4 separate regions of the Homo sapiens genome follow, and all the other regions are linked to region 3. Evidence: promoter capture Hi-C in human tissues and cell types (Jung and others, 2019). All regions are on one chromosome and are shown on one strand. The core of a region is centred on a gene start or on the middle of the fragment in contact, and the rest is flanking DNA. Distances in the headings are between cores, read along the strand shown.

Region 1 (3,011 bases), core at 1-2,500, 200 kb before region 3:
CACAACTTTCAGGAAATGTGATAAATTTAGTGGGAAAAAAATTTAATGCACGCCTTGCAAAGGCTTCTTTGAGGGTAGCACAGGAGGAAGTGCCAATATAGTGTGTTTGTCTTTTGCTCTGCAATTCTGCAGGTACTGGATCATGATGTTTCAAAGGAAGAACCAGTCACCTTTCACTTCTTGGCCAAATTTTATCCTGAGAATGCTGAAGAGGAGCTGGTTCAGGAGATCACACAACATTTATTCTTCTTACAGGTACATCAGTCAAGGCTACCCCCCAGTTCTGAGAGAACTTGCCCAGGAGTGGTTGCAGAGTTGGCCTCAGAGTTGACCACAAACACCTTTGTATTGCAAAAATATTCTACCTCTGGAAGGTCAGCCCCTTTGGTTCTGTAATGGAAAAAAGGCTTCAGAACAGAACTATACTTGAGTGATGAAAATTGGTGTCAGATGAAATTGTGAAGGTGTGATGGTGAAGAATGGATACAAGTAGCTACCTAACTTAAAACCTCCTTGAAAATGGGTCCTATTTTCTTCTAGCTAACTTAAAAGTACTCAATAGTTTCAAAGGAAGGCTAAAGAGAGAGTCTTATAAAGCAGTAGTTCTTCCAAAAGTTTAAAATCTGCTCTCATTAAGAGAGGACTGGCCGGGCATGGTGGCTCAGGCCTGTAATCCCAGCACTTTAGGAGGCCGAGGCGGGCAGATCACAAGGTCAGGAGATCGAGACCATCTGGCTAACATGGTGAAACCCCGTCTCTACTAAATATACAAAAATTAGCCGGGTGTGGTGGCAGGTGCCTGTAGTCCCAGCTACTCGGGAGGCTGAGGCAGGAGAATCACTTGAACCTGGAAGATGGAGGTTGCAGTGAGCCAAGATCGCGCCACTGCACTCCAGCTTGGGCAACAGAGTGAGGTTCCGTCTCAAAAAAAAAAAAAAAAAAAAAAAAAAGGACTTCAGCCGGGCGGGTTGGCTCACCCCTGTAATCCCAGCACTTTGGGAGGCTGAGGCGGGCAGATCACGAGGTCAGGAGTTCAAGACCAGCCTGACCAACATGGTGAAACTCCATGTCTACTAAAAATACAAAAATTAGCCAGGCATGGTGATGCATGCCTGTAATCCCAGCTACTCAGGAGGCTGAGGCAGGAGAATCACTTGAACCCAGGAGGCGGAGGTTGCAGTGAGCCAAAATTGAGTCACTTCACTCTAGCCTGGGTGACAGAGTGAGACTCTGTCTTAAAAAAAAAAAAAAAAAAAAAAAAAGAGGACTTCAGAGCTCTAGTGACACTTGGTTTGTCCCCCATATGTGGTACTTCAGACATCGTGCTTCATGCTATGCTGTGTCTCTAATTGTCCTATTTCTTCCTTAATTCCTCATTAGATTGTAAGCCCCTTAAAGGCAAGCCTCATTAAGTACACAGTAGGCATTCCATAAGTAATTGTCCCACCGAATTGAAGAAATTAAGAAATTCACAATTACAGGTTGACCATCCAGAGGCACAGGGAGGGGAACTGGTCTGAGGATGAAAACCTTATCAGTTTCACTTATGTTCTTACTGCAGGTCAGAGTGGCTCCCCAGTTTCATGGCCAGTTGCAGTGATTGGCACTGGGGCTATTTGTGTGCTCAAAGGTTTCAGTAATGTAAAAGATGGCAGTAGGGGCATTAATTACATGATTTCCCAGAGATAGTTGGGTAGTCTGTCACATAGCCCTCCTGTAATTAATTTCAGCCTCAGTATATTGTGGTCAGCAAATATTAAGTTAAATATAATAAAACCCCCTAAATTCTTTTTAAAAAAGGTCTGGGGGGCGTGTGTGTGTGTGTGTGTGTGTGCACGCGCAAAAGAGGTGACAAATTTATTTCTGATGTTTGCAGATCAAAGGGACACTCTTAGGCTGGGCGTGGTGGCTCATGCCTGTAATCCCAGCAATTTGGGAGGCCGAGGCGGGTGGATCACCTGAGGTCAGGAGTTTGAGACCACCCTGACCAACATGGAGAAACCCCGTCCCTACTAAAAATACAAAATTAGCCGGGCATGGTGGCACATGCCTGTAATCCCAGCTACTTGGGAGACTGAGGCAGGGGAATCACTTGAACCCGGGAGGTGGAGGTTGCAGTGAGCCGAGATTGCGCCATTGCACTCCAGCCTGGGCAACCAGAGTGAAACTCCTTCTCAAAAGAAAAGGGATGTTCTTGCAGTTTTTCTATAGCGTTGCTTTTTCCCCCCTCTCTTTGGAAATGAAACCAAGGGATTAGAAAGTTGCACTGCTTGAGAAACATCTCAGGTTTCATTTTCTCTCTAAGAATGTAAAATCACTTTTAAAACCTAAGAAGAATTTTTGTGTTTGAACGTAAACACCTAACAATCTCCTAGGTCCCAGAATGTCCTAATGTTATAGAAATGGCTTTCTTGTAAGTACTTGGAAGCACTGCCTGTCTCTTGTGTGACTGACTTGATTTTCCCCATACTGAAATGTTAAGGCATTTTTATGACTGAGCAAGGCAAAATTTACTGCTTTTATGAATCCGGTGACTGTTGACATCTGTGAGAGGAGAGCTGGCTTTCCTGCTGTGTTTATTTCAGTGTCCCCCTGCCACGTCATGCAGTTGTCTTGCTTCTGTGTCTGGAACATCCCAAGTTGCACCATTCTAAGAAAATTAAGTGCAATGAAATATGTTAATTCAACATTATGGCTTAAGAATTATATTTCCTGGACCTCACGTGTACTTAAAAGTTGAATCGATCAAATTTTATTGCTTCCTTTTCCCTTAGAGCAGCACGTTGAGAGTGATGGTTTTTTCTGCAATCATAACTCAGTGGCCTTGGTGACTTTTGTCTTGTGTTAATACTTAAAAGTAGATCCATTTCCTCTGGGGCCATGCATATTCAAAGGGGCTGAGGCTGTAGTCATCCCCAGAGCTGCTCTTGACACTTCTTGAGTTCATAGCGCTCTGTCACACAGCCTCTGTTGTAACTACAGAGACCGTTTTTACTCTTCAGCATTGATCA
Region 2 (2,867 bases), core at 41-2,540, 200 kb after region 3:
ACCCCAACACTGGGTGTCCCCAAGGACTAGCCACACACTCTAGACCCACTCCAAAGCATTCTTTCTTGCAACCATTCTGCAACCTGCCACCTTGCTAACCCTCCTGCCAGTTCTTCTGCCTCTGTAGTTGGCCTGTGAGACTTTGCAGGCAGCCCTCTCACCTACTTCCTTGGCATTACTGCTCTGAGGCTCAGCTCTCTGCCCTCCTTCCACGCATGCTTCCTTGGACATGCAGAAATTAAAGTGCTGAAAATGGAGGCCTGTTATATACCACAGTTCTAAGTCTCTAGAGGCCTCCTTCAGGCACCTGGGGAGACTGCGAGAGCATCAGGTGTCCCCATCTGGACGTGTCTATGTGGCCATGCTTCACCTGCACCCCCACGCAGTTCGATGGCATTAACCTGGGGACTAGTTCTGGGCCTGAAAACTGAGCTCAGCCTTGTCAGCCAGAGATGCCTCGGGGCTTCCCCTGAACTGAGAGGCCACGACGTCTGCTCTTCGCTTTTATCCTCTGTTGCAGGATGCAGTCAGCACCTAGTGCAGGGGTGAACGCCGATGCCAAGTTTGCCCTCCTATCCTTCAACCCCAAGTAGGAAGTTCACCTCTTATTTTCATATTGTAATTGAATTCCGACACCCCACCAACCCTTCCTGGGACTGGGGGAAGCCCCATCGTCAGTCTATTTATGACACTCCGTCGTAGGAAGCTTTGACCCTGGTTGGACAGGAATGAGCTAGAGCACCCAAAGCCACTGGGCATGGTTTCTGTGTGCTGCCCTAGGCAAGGGCAGAGGGGCTCTGCCTCTCCTTACCTGGGCCTACCAGAACACCCTTGCCAGTCACATGTCTTCCGGGTCACCCTGCTGCCCTCCAAGGCACCTCATGCCCTCAGAGGGCCCTGCTGATGCCTGAAAAGCCCAGATCAAGCTGAGAACAAGGGCCTGGCTGTCTGTTCAGGAACCCTCTGCCCTGTTCTGCCTCGGTACTCTGTCACCCCTCATTGCTGAGGACCCTAACCAATGCATGCACAGAGAGTCTTGGCTTCTGACAGCTCTGGATATGCTCTGTGGCGCCTTCATGTAGTAAGTCATTGAAGGCTAAGTCTCTGTGCAGGCTTCACTGGTGACTCACACATGTCCCCACCCCTACCATTCCATGAGATGACATGGGACTTCTGTCTCAGGCACTGTTTGCTCTCAAGAATATGCTGCCTGTTAGGGAAGATGATCAGGCAGATAAATATATTCATACCCTCATCCAAAAAGAACAGGACCTGAAAAAGCCTCTTAGAGGCAACCCATTGAAAATGGAGACCAGTGTTTCATACAGCACATAGTGAAAAAGGTTTGATCCGAATTTAATCTTGTAAAATGAAACTATTATTGAAATAAGTATCTTTTTTGAATCGACAAAATTATATATAATATACAGTATGTTTTGAAATATGTATACATTGTGTAATGGTTTAAATCGATCTAATTAACATATGCGTTACCTCACATACTTATTTTTTTGTGATGAGAGACACTTAAAATCTACCCTCTTAGAGATTTTCAAGAATACAATGCATTGTTATTAACTAAGTCACCTTGTGGTGCAATAGAGCTCTTTAACCTAATCCTATTTAACTGAAATTTATCCTTTAACCAGTATCTCCCACTGTTTTGTTTAAAAGTATGTTTTAACAAAAGGTAATTGCAACTATAGGCTAATTCTTTGTTGTTGTTGTCGTTATTGAGAGAGGGTCAGTCTCGCTCTGTTGCCCAGGCTGGAGTGCAGTGGCACGATCTTGGCTCACTACAACCTCCGCCTCCTGGGTTCAAGAGATTCTCGTGCCTCAGCTTCCTGAGTAGCAGGGATTATAGGCATGCACCAGTACACCCAGCTAATTTTTGTAGTTTTAGTAGAGGTGGGGTTTTGCCATGTTGGCTTGGCTGGTCTCAAACTTCTGACCTTAAGTGATCCACCTGCCTTGACCTCCCAAAGTGCTGGGATTACAGGCGTGAGCCACCACTCCCGACCAGGCTAATTCTTAAAAATAATATTTTAGGTGTATTTCCCTCCCCAAATTATATGATTGCACAATAGGACATTATTTCATGTTTGATTTTCTAGTGTAATCAATCACAGGATCATTTTAGGAAAAGTTAGTCAAGGGCTTCCTCAATTTCCCTCTTAAATCCTTTAGTCTTTGATATTCACATCATCCCCCTAGGAAACACCTAATTGGTTAGACATGTCACCTTCCCCTTCATTTGTTAATGGACCTACTCTCTGCGATCCTTATTTCCAATGGCTACACTCATCTGAGCAGTTTGCCAACACATTCACCAACTATGTGAAATTCTGCATATTTTACAAAACTTAAATTGTACTTTGGTGCCTGTTTTGTTGTATTTTCAACATCTCACAATCCGTAACAGGGAAGTTGGGCTATGGTGGATGGAGAGTATGTTAAGGAGGAAGAGATGTTTAAGTGGAGAGTGATTTTTCTAAGTGGTTGAGTTGTGTAGAGAATACTCTTCATGTCTGATGACTTTAGCTTTCTCCACAACTAGTGGCTACAGGAACTTGGATACTGACTAGTTGGAGTTATAGCTCAGAGGAAGAAGAGAGTACATGTACATCTGAGCAGGGAGCCTGCCCCTTGGGGGATAGCAGTGACATCAACACATGGCAATATGATGACGTCAAGGTGAGCCAAGGCAAGTGGGCGGGTTTCAGGATCTGAGCCAGAGGGCATGGGTTAGCGAACAGGAAAGGCAGGAAATATTTGTTAAAAGCTTAGGCCAAAAAAGTCTCCTATGTCAGGCCAAACACTGGTCCCAATTCTATAGGTATTTGAGGTTTCTGAACAGAGAATGGAAC
Region 3 (3,069 bases), core at 1-2,500:
AGCTATGTAGATAAGGCTCATGAAGCTGTGGCAGCATTTAAAAGAGAGACCTGGCTTGAGGAAGAAGTGATGTCAAGGAAGACCTGAGTTTTTGTCTAAAGCACGGGTACAAATTAAGTAGGCAGGGCTGGGCGCGATGGCTCACGCCTGTAATCCCAGCGCTTTGGGAGGCCAAGGCGGGCGGATCACGAGGCCAGGAGATCGAGACCATCCTGGCTAGCAAGGTGAAACCCCGTCTCTACCGAAAAAAAAAAAAAAAATTAGCAGGGCGTGGTGGTGCATGCCTGTAATCCTAGCTACTCAGGAGGCTGAGGCAGGAGAATCGCTTGAACCCGGGAGGCGGAGGTTGCAGTGGGACGAGATCACGCCACTGCACTCCAGCCTGGGCGACAGAGCAAGACCCCGTCTTGGGGGGAAAAAATAAATTAACTGGACAATCTGAACTTTGAGCTCCAAAAGGACAAACAATAATCATGACTATGTCTGTGCCCACCACTGTATTCCCCTGCCAGGCAGGACAGCAAAAGCCAAAAGCTAAGAAAGGGAGGGGGAGCTCCCTACAAGCACCCAATTGCAATATGGCCTGGGAGCATCCCCGGGGCTACTGCTCCCTCAGCCTCTTTGTCATCATTCCTCTAGTCTCTCAATTAAATACTACTCTCCTCAGAGACCTTCTGATGGCTCTGCCTATAGTATCCACTCTCCCAGTTACTGTCATAGCTTTAATGACCTTGTGCATTTGCTTGTCGTTGACCATCTCCTCCCACTAGACTGTAAGCTCCATGAGGGCAGAAGCCTTGTCTGTCTTGCTTTCTTTGTATCCCCAATGTCTAGATCTGTGTCTGGCACATAGGAAGCACTCCACAAATATTTGCTGAACGAATGAATGAACCCTGAGGAAACTGAAGCCCCGGGTGTGAGGACGTGGGGGGATCGTGGCTGGTCCAACGCCACTCTGGGGCCGAACTTCGAACCCGTGGCTCCTGACCCTGGCGGCCAAGTCTCGAGAGGCGGCTCACAACCCCTCAGGTAGCGTAAGCGTGGGCCCCGCAATGGAGGCCAGAGGATGGGAGAGCCAAGGCTGCCCAAGGCATAGCCGCGGCTCCTCCGGGGTCCCTTGCCCTGCATCTGGCAGGGACCAGCCACGCACTCACCTCGGCGGCTCCACCACCGGCTCTGTGCCGCCGCCGCCGCCGCCGCCGCCGACCACGGTGACAGCTCCCTGAGCGCCCGCACTTCCGGGGTCAAACTGCGATTCCGCAGGAGCAGACAGGAAGTCTCGGCCTGGCCCCGCCCCCAGAGCCGAGCAAACTACCGCCGGGAAGCCGGACCCGGGTTGCGCCTCTCTTCTTAAGACTCCGCCCCACACTCGGCGTCTGTAGCCACGCCCCCTTCCCCTCCTATCTCCCTTCCTGCTTAAGCAGAGAATAGGTCAGCTGAGGGCGGGCTGTGTGATTACACCTCTCGGGAAATCCAAGTATGGCACCTGAGAGGACGTCTCGGAATCCCAGGCTTCCACCTTCTGCCCGACCTCCTTAGTCACCGTTTTACATATTTAATCCAGAAGAGAAATTTTAACAAGTCAAAAGCACGAACATAATGTTAAGCAGATGTACAAGTACAGACTGCGATTTCATTTACGGGAAATTCTAGAACAGACAGAACTCATGAGTAGTGATGGTGTTAAAATTGGTGGTTTCCTCTGGGGCTGTGGGCTGGGAGGGGCCACAAGTGAGGCTGGGGTCACCCCCTGTCTTCATCTCGGTGGTAGCCATGTAGATGTGTTCACTTTGGAAAATTCATCAAATTGTACGCTTAAGATTTGTGCATTTTTCTGTATGTATGCAATACAGTTTTGTTCTGTTTTGTTTAAGGAAGTTACAAGTATAGCTATCCTAAGAGAAGGATGCAATTTTTTCTACAGAATGTCTCAGGTAATGTAGGTTTAGTGGTTCCTAAGCCTGACTATGGATCAGAATCATCACAGAAAACTTGTTAAGAACACACATTCCTGGCTTCATCTCAGTGCCTGGTACACAGTAAGAATTCAAAACCAACCACCATCATTATTGGGGTGTTATAGAAGCCCCCGAATGGAGAACACAACCCCACCCTGGGATTGTGAAATATTTCCCAGGACACTCCTGCCAACCCCTGCTATCTGCACTAGGGCTACAAGGAATGCTTAGTTCAGTGCCTGTCTTCAAGGGGCTTACAGGATAGGAAGTGCAAGAAAACCAATAGCAATGAGTCAGTGTGATGAATGCAGGGTGCTAAGGAAATAGGAGAGATGGGCTGTAAACCAGAAATGAGATGAGAGGGGCTGGATATTATATTAGTTTTGTATTGCTGCATAACATATTACCACAAACTTATAACAACACACTGCTTGCCACTTATAACAAACACATTTATTTATTTATTTATTTTGAGACAGAGTCTCACTCTGTCACCAGGCTGGAGTGCAGTGGTGTGATCTTGGCTCACTGTAACCTCTGCCTCCCGGAGGTTACAGTGGGTTCAAGCGATTCTCCTGCCTCAGCCTCCCAAGTAGGCAGGACTACAGGCATGAGCCACCAGGCCCAGCTAATTTTTGTATTTTTAGTAGAGACGGAGTTTCACCATGTTGGCCAGGATGGTCTCGATCTCTTGACGTCGTGATCCGCCTGCCTCAGCCTTCCAAAGTGCTGGGGTTACAGGCGTGAGCCACCACACCTGGCCAACAAACATATTTATTATCTCACATTTTCTGTGGGCCAGGAATCTGAGGATGGCATAGCTGGCTCCTCTGCATCAGGGTCACCCACAAGACTGCAATCAAGATATCGGCCAGGGCTGGAGTCTCATTTAAAGGCTCAACTCAAAAAGGATCTGCTTCCCATGTCTAGTGGCTAAATTCAGTTCCTTAATGGTTGTTGGACTAAGGGTCTCAGTTCCTAGCTGGATTTTGGCTAAAGGCTTGTCACGTAGGCTTCTCCAGTGTAGCAGCCTGCTTCATCAAAGCATGCAAGCCTAAAAGTTAATAGGGAAGCCAAGAGTGGTGGCACATGCTTATGGTTCCAGCAGGTT
Region 4 (2,796 bases), core at 297-2,796, 160 kb before region 3:
TCAACTGCTGTTATACTACTGGACTGTAGTCACCTCCTAGTTGTGTTCTCCAGCAACTGGGATCTGTGGTGGTTCCCATGTCTAGAACAAACAAAGGTGAGAGAAGAGACTCAGGCTCGAGGCTAAGGAAAGCTGACAGCTGGTGGGGCCACTTTGCTGCAGTGGGTGGCACTGGGCAGGGCCCCAGCATGGCCTGATCATGGCAGCAATTGCTGAGCTGCCCTCCGTCTTCCCTTTATTGTGGGTAGAAGTGGATCAGAGATGGAAAGGAAAGGATCCCCACTGCAGAGGAAATCTAAGCGAGGGCCCCTAGTTCCCAGAGCTAGCGGTAAGTTGGTTAACTGCTGCTGCTTGCTAGAGGACAACCACAGTAGCTACCATGCATTGAGTGCCTGTGTGTCAGGGGTTTTGGCTTTTGTCTCATTTAATTCCTGCTAACTTACAAACATCAAAATGACATCAAAGGTAGGTTTTCATGTTCCCATTTTATAAGTGAGAACTCAGATTTAGAGAGTTTAGTGAACTCCACCAGCATCCCACAGCTGATGCAGAGGGGTTGAAACCCCTCACCCATCTGACTCTGCAGCCCATGTGCTTTTACCATGGGTGGTATCCTCAGGAAAACCCTTTGGGGAAAGTGTCTCCATGGAGTCCAGTATGGGCAACCAGAACCCAGGCTGTTTTTCTTTGGGCTCTCACACTGAGGGTATAGCTAAGTAGCCAATGAACCAGAGCCTCTAGCTGTCATATCTGCTGTCCATGTTCCTTTCACCATTATCCAGACATATACATTTATGTGGTTGGGATCCGGGATCAGGGTGAAGCTGTTCTGTGTCTGCTATTTTATAGTTTGTATTTTGTTACTATCTTAGTTTGTTTTGGCTACTGTAACAAAATACCAGAGGCTGGGTAGCTTATAAACAACAGAAATTTATTTCTTGGCCAGGCACAGTGGCTCATGCCTGTAATTCCAGCACTTTGGGAGTCCAAGGGGGGCAGATCTCTTGAGCCAGGAGTTCAAGACCAGCCTGGGCAACATGGCAAAACCCCATTTCTACTAAGAATACAAAAATTAGCTGGGTGTGGTGGCACATGCCTGTGGTCCCAGCTACTCGGGAGGCTGAGGTGGGAGGATTGCTTGAGCCTGGGAGGCAGAGGTTGCAGTGAGCCCAGATTGCACCACTGCACTCCAGCCTGGGCAACAGAGAGACACCCTGTCTCAAAAAAAAAAAAAAGAAAAGAAAGAAATTGATTTCTCACAGTTTGGGAGGCTGAGAAGGCCAAGATCAAGGCACGGGCAGAGGTGGAGTCTAGTGAGGGCATTCTTGCTGGTTCATAATCAGCCCCTTTTTGCTGCATGCTCACCCAGTGGAAGGGATGAGGGGTCTCTCTGGAGTCTCTTTTATAAGGGCACTAATCCCATTCATGAGGCTCTACCCTCATGACTGCCCAAAGGCCCCACCTCCTGACACTTTTTTTTTTTTTGAGATGGAGTCTCACTCCATCGCCCAGGCTGGAGTGCAGTGGTGCGATCTCGGCTCACTGTAACCTCCACCTCCTGGGTGCAAGCGATTCTCCTGCCTCAGCCTCCTGAGTAGCTGGGATTACAGGCGCATGCTATCACGCCCAGCTAACTTTTGTATTTTTAGTAGAGATGGGGTTTCACCATGTTGGTCAGGCTGGTCTCGAACTCCTGACCTCATGATCCGCCCACCTTGGCCTCCCAAAGTGTTGGGATTACAGGCGTGAGCCACCACACCCAGCCGGTGATTAGGTTTCCACATATGAATTTTGAAGACACGAACATTCAGACCATAGCACTTCTTACCCTTGCACATATTGGCAGAGTCTCTATACTAACCATGGCAATCCCTATGGAGTGTTTTTGGTATTTGTATTGCATGGTTTTTCTGGCCATGCCTTGTAGTTGGACACTTTGTGGGTGGTTTCCAGATTTTCACCATCATAGATGCTGTCACTCAGTGTTATCTGTTCTCAGGTGAGGGTGGGGATCTTTTCTTCCTTGCGTTGGGTGAGCTTCTGAGTGAGCTTCTGTCATCTTTAGATGAAGTCTCAGAACAAGTGGGAATGTGGATGTGGCCTATCAAAAGAGATCACGTGAAGCTGGGCGCTGTGGCTTATGCCTATAATCCCAGCCCTTTGAGACCAGGGGTTCAAAGCCAGCCTGGGCAGCATAGCAAGATCCTATAAAAAAAAAAAAGAGTTTACTTGAATTACTGCTCCAAGAAGGGTTGAGACAAGGAGATTGTTCTGGGTTCCCAGGAAGCTTGTTTCACGTATGTTTTTTTTTTGTACAGAACGAAAAGCTGTCCATGAGAGCTGGTATTTGTAGAGCCCCCTATGAGAATTTACCAAGGGCTTTTCTACTCTTTCTTTTTCTTTCCTTTTCTTTTTTTTTTTTTAAAAATAGAGACAGGGTCTTGCTATGTTTCCCAAGCTGGTCTCCAACTCCTGGGCTCAAGCAATCCTCCTGCCTCAGCCACCCAAAGTACTGGGATTACAGGTGGAGCCACCGTGCCTGGCCTCCTACACTGTTTTATTTAATCCTAACCACGGCCCTGTGATCATTATCCCAATTTTAATGATGAGGAAACATTCATAGCATTTAAGTGACCAGCCCAAGCTCCCATGGCCTGTGAGTGGCCAAGTAGAGACGTGAACCCCAGGCCTCAAACCCTAGATCGCACACCAAGCAGCTTGTGGGCCGCAGAGCACCTGAGCCGTGTCTCACTGTCTGCCCAAGCCCTGATGCATGATACCCTCTTGCCGGCAGAG

Evidence for each region. Contacts are between HindIII fragments. The study calls those that stand out against the background at their distance.
Region 1: a contact is called between a fragment that was not itself captured here and the fragment with the promoter of ASCC2 in region 3, in 2 of the 25 tissues and cell types used here (dorsolateral prefrontal cortex and neural progenitor cells).
Region 2: a fragment that was not itself captured here is called in contact with the fragment with the promoter of ASCC2 in region 3 in 7 of the 25 tissues and cell types used here (H1 embryonic stem cells, IMR-90 fibroblasts, dorsolateral prefrontal cortex and 4 more).
Region 4: a contact is called between a fragment that was not itself captured here and the fragment with the promoter of ASCC2 in region 3, in 3 of the 25 tissues and cell types used here (liver, mesendoderm cells and thymus).

What each region holds. Positions count from the first base shown.
Region 1 is chr22:29,638,958-29,641,968 of GRCh38, forward strand. NF2 (NF2, moesin-ezrin-radixin like (MERLIN) tumor suppressor) reads left to right here. Exons shown (of 16, transcript NM_000268.4): 3 at 133-255. Among named protein-coding and RNA genes, the nearest start is that of NF2, 37 kb to the left of the region's middle. The HindIII fragment of the contact is 5,010 bases long and covers 1-3,011 here.
Region 2 is chr22:30,035,720-30,038,586 of GRCh38, forward strand. The region is part of intron 3 of HORMAD2-AS1 (HORMAD2 and MTMR3 antisense RNA 1); the gene reads right to left. Among named protein-coding and RNA genes, the nearest start is that of MIR6818, 30 kb to the left of the region's middle. The HindIII fragment of the contact is 4,617 bases long and covers 1-2,867 here.
Region 3 is chr22:29,837,024-29,840,092 of GRCh38, forward strand. It overlaps ASCC2 (activating signal cointegrator 1 complex subunit 2), which reads right to left and starts at 1,251. Exons shown (of 20, transcript NM_032204.5): 1 at 1,155-1,251. RefSeq lists an enhancer at 1,524-1,583. The HindIII fragment of the contact is 14,310 bases long and covers 1-3,069 here.
Region 4 is chr22:29,678,645-29,681,440 of GRCh38, forward strand. NF2 (NF2, moesin-ezrin-radixin like (MERLIN) tumor suppressor) reads left to right here. Exons shown (of 16, transcript NM_000268.4): 15 at 2,795-2,796. Among named protein-coding and RNA genes, the nearest start is that of CABP7-DT, 40 kb to the right of the region's middle. The HindIII fragment of the contact is 5,631 bases long and covers 1-2,796 here.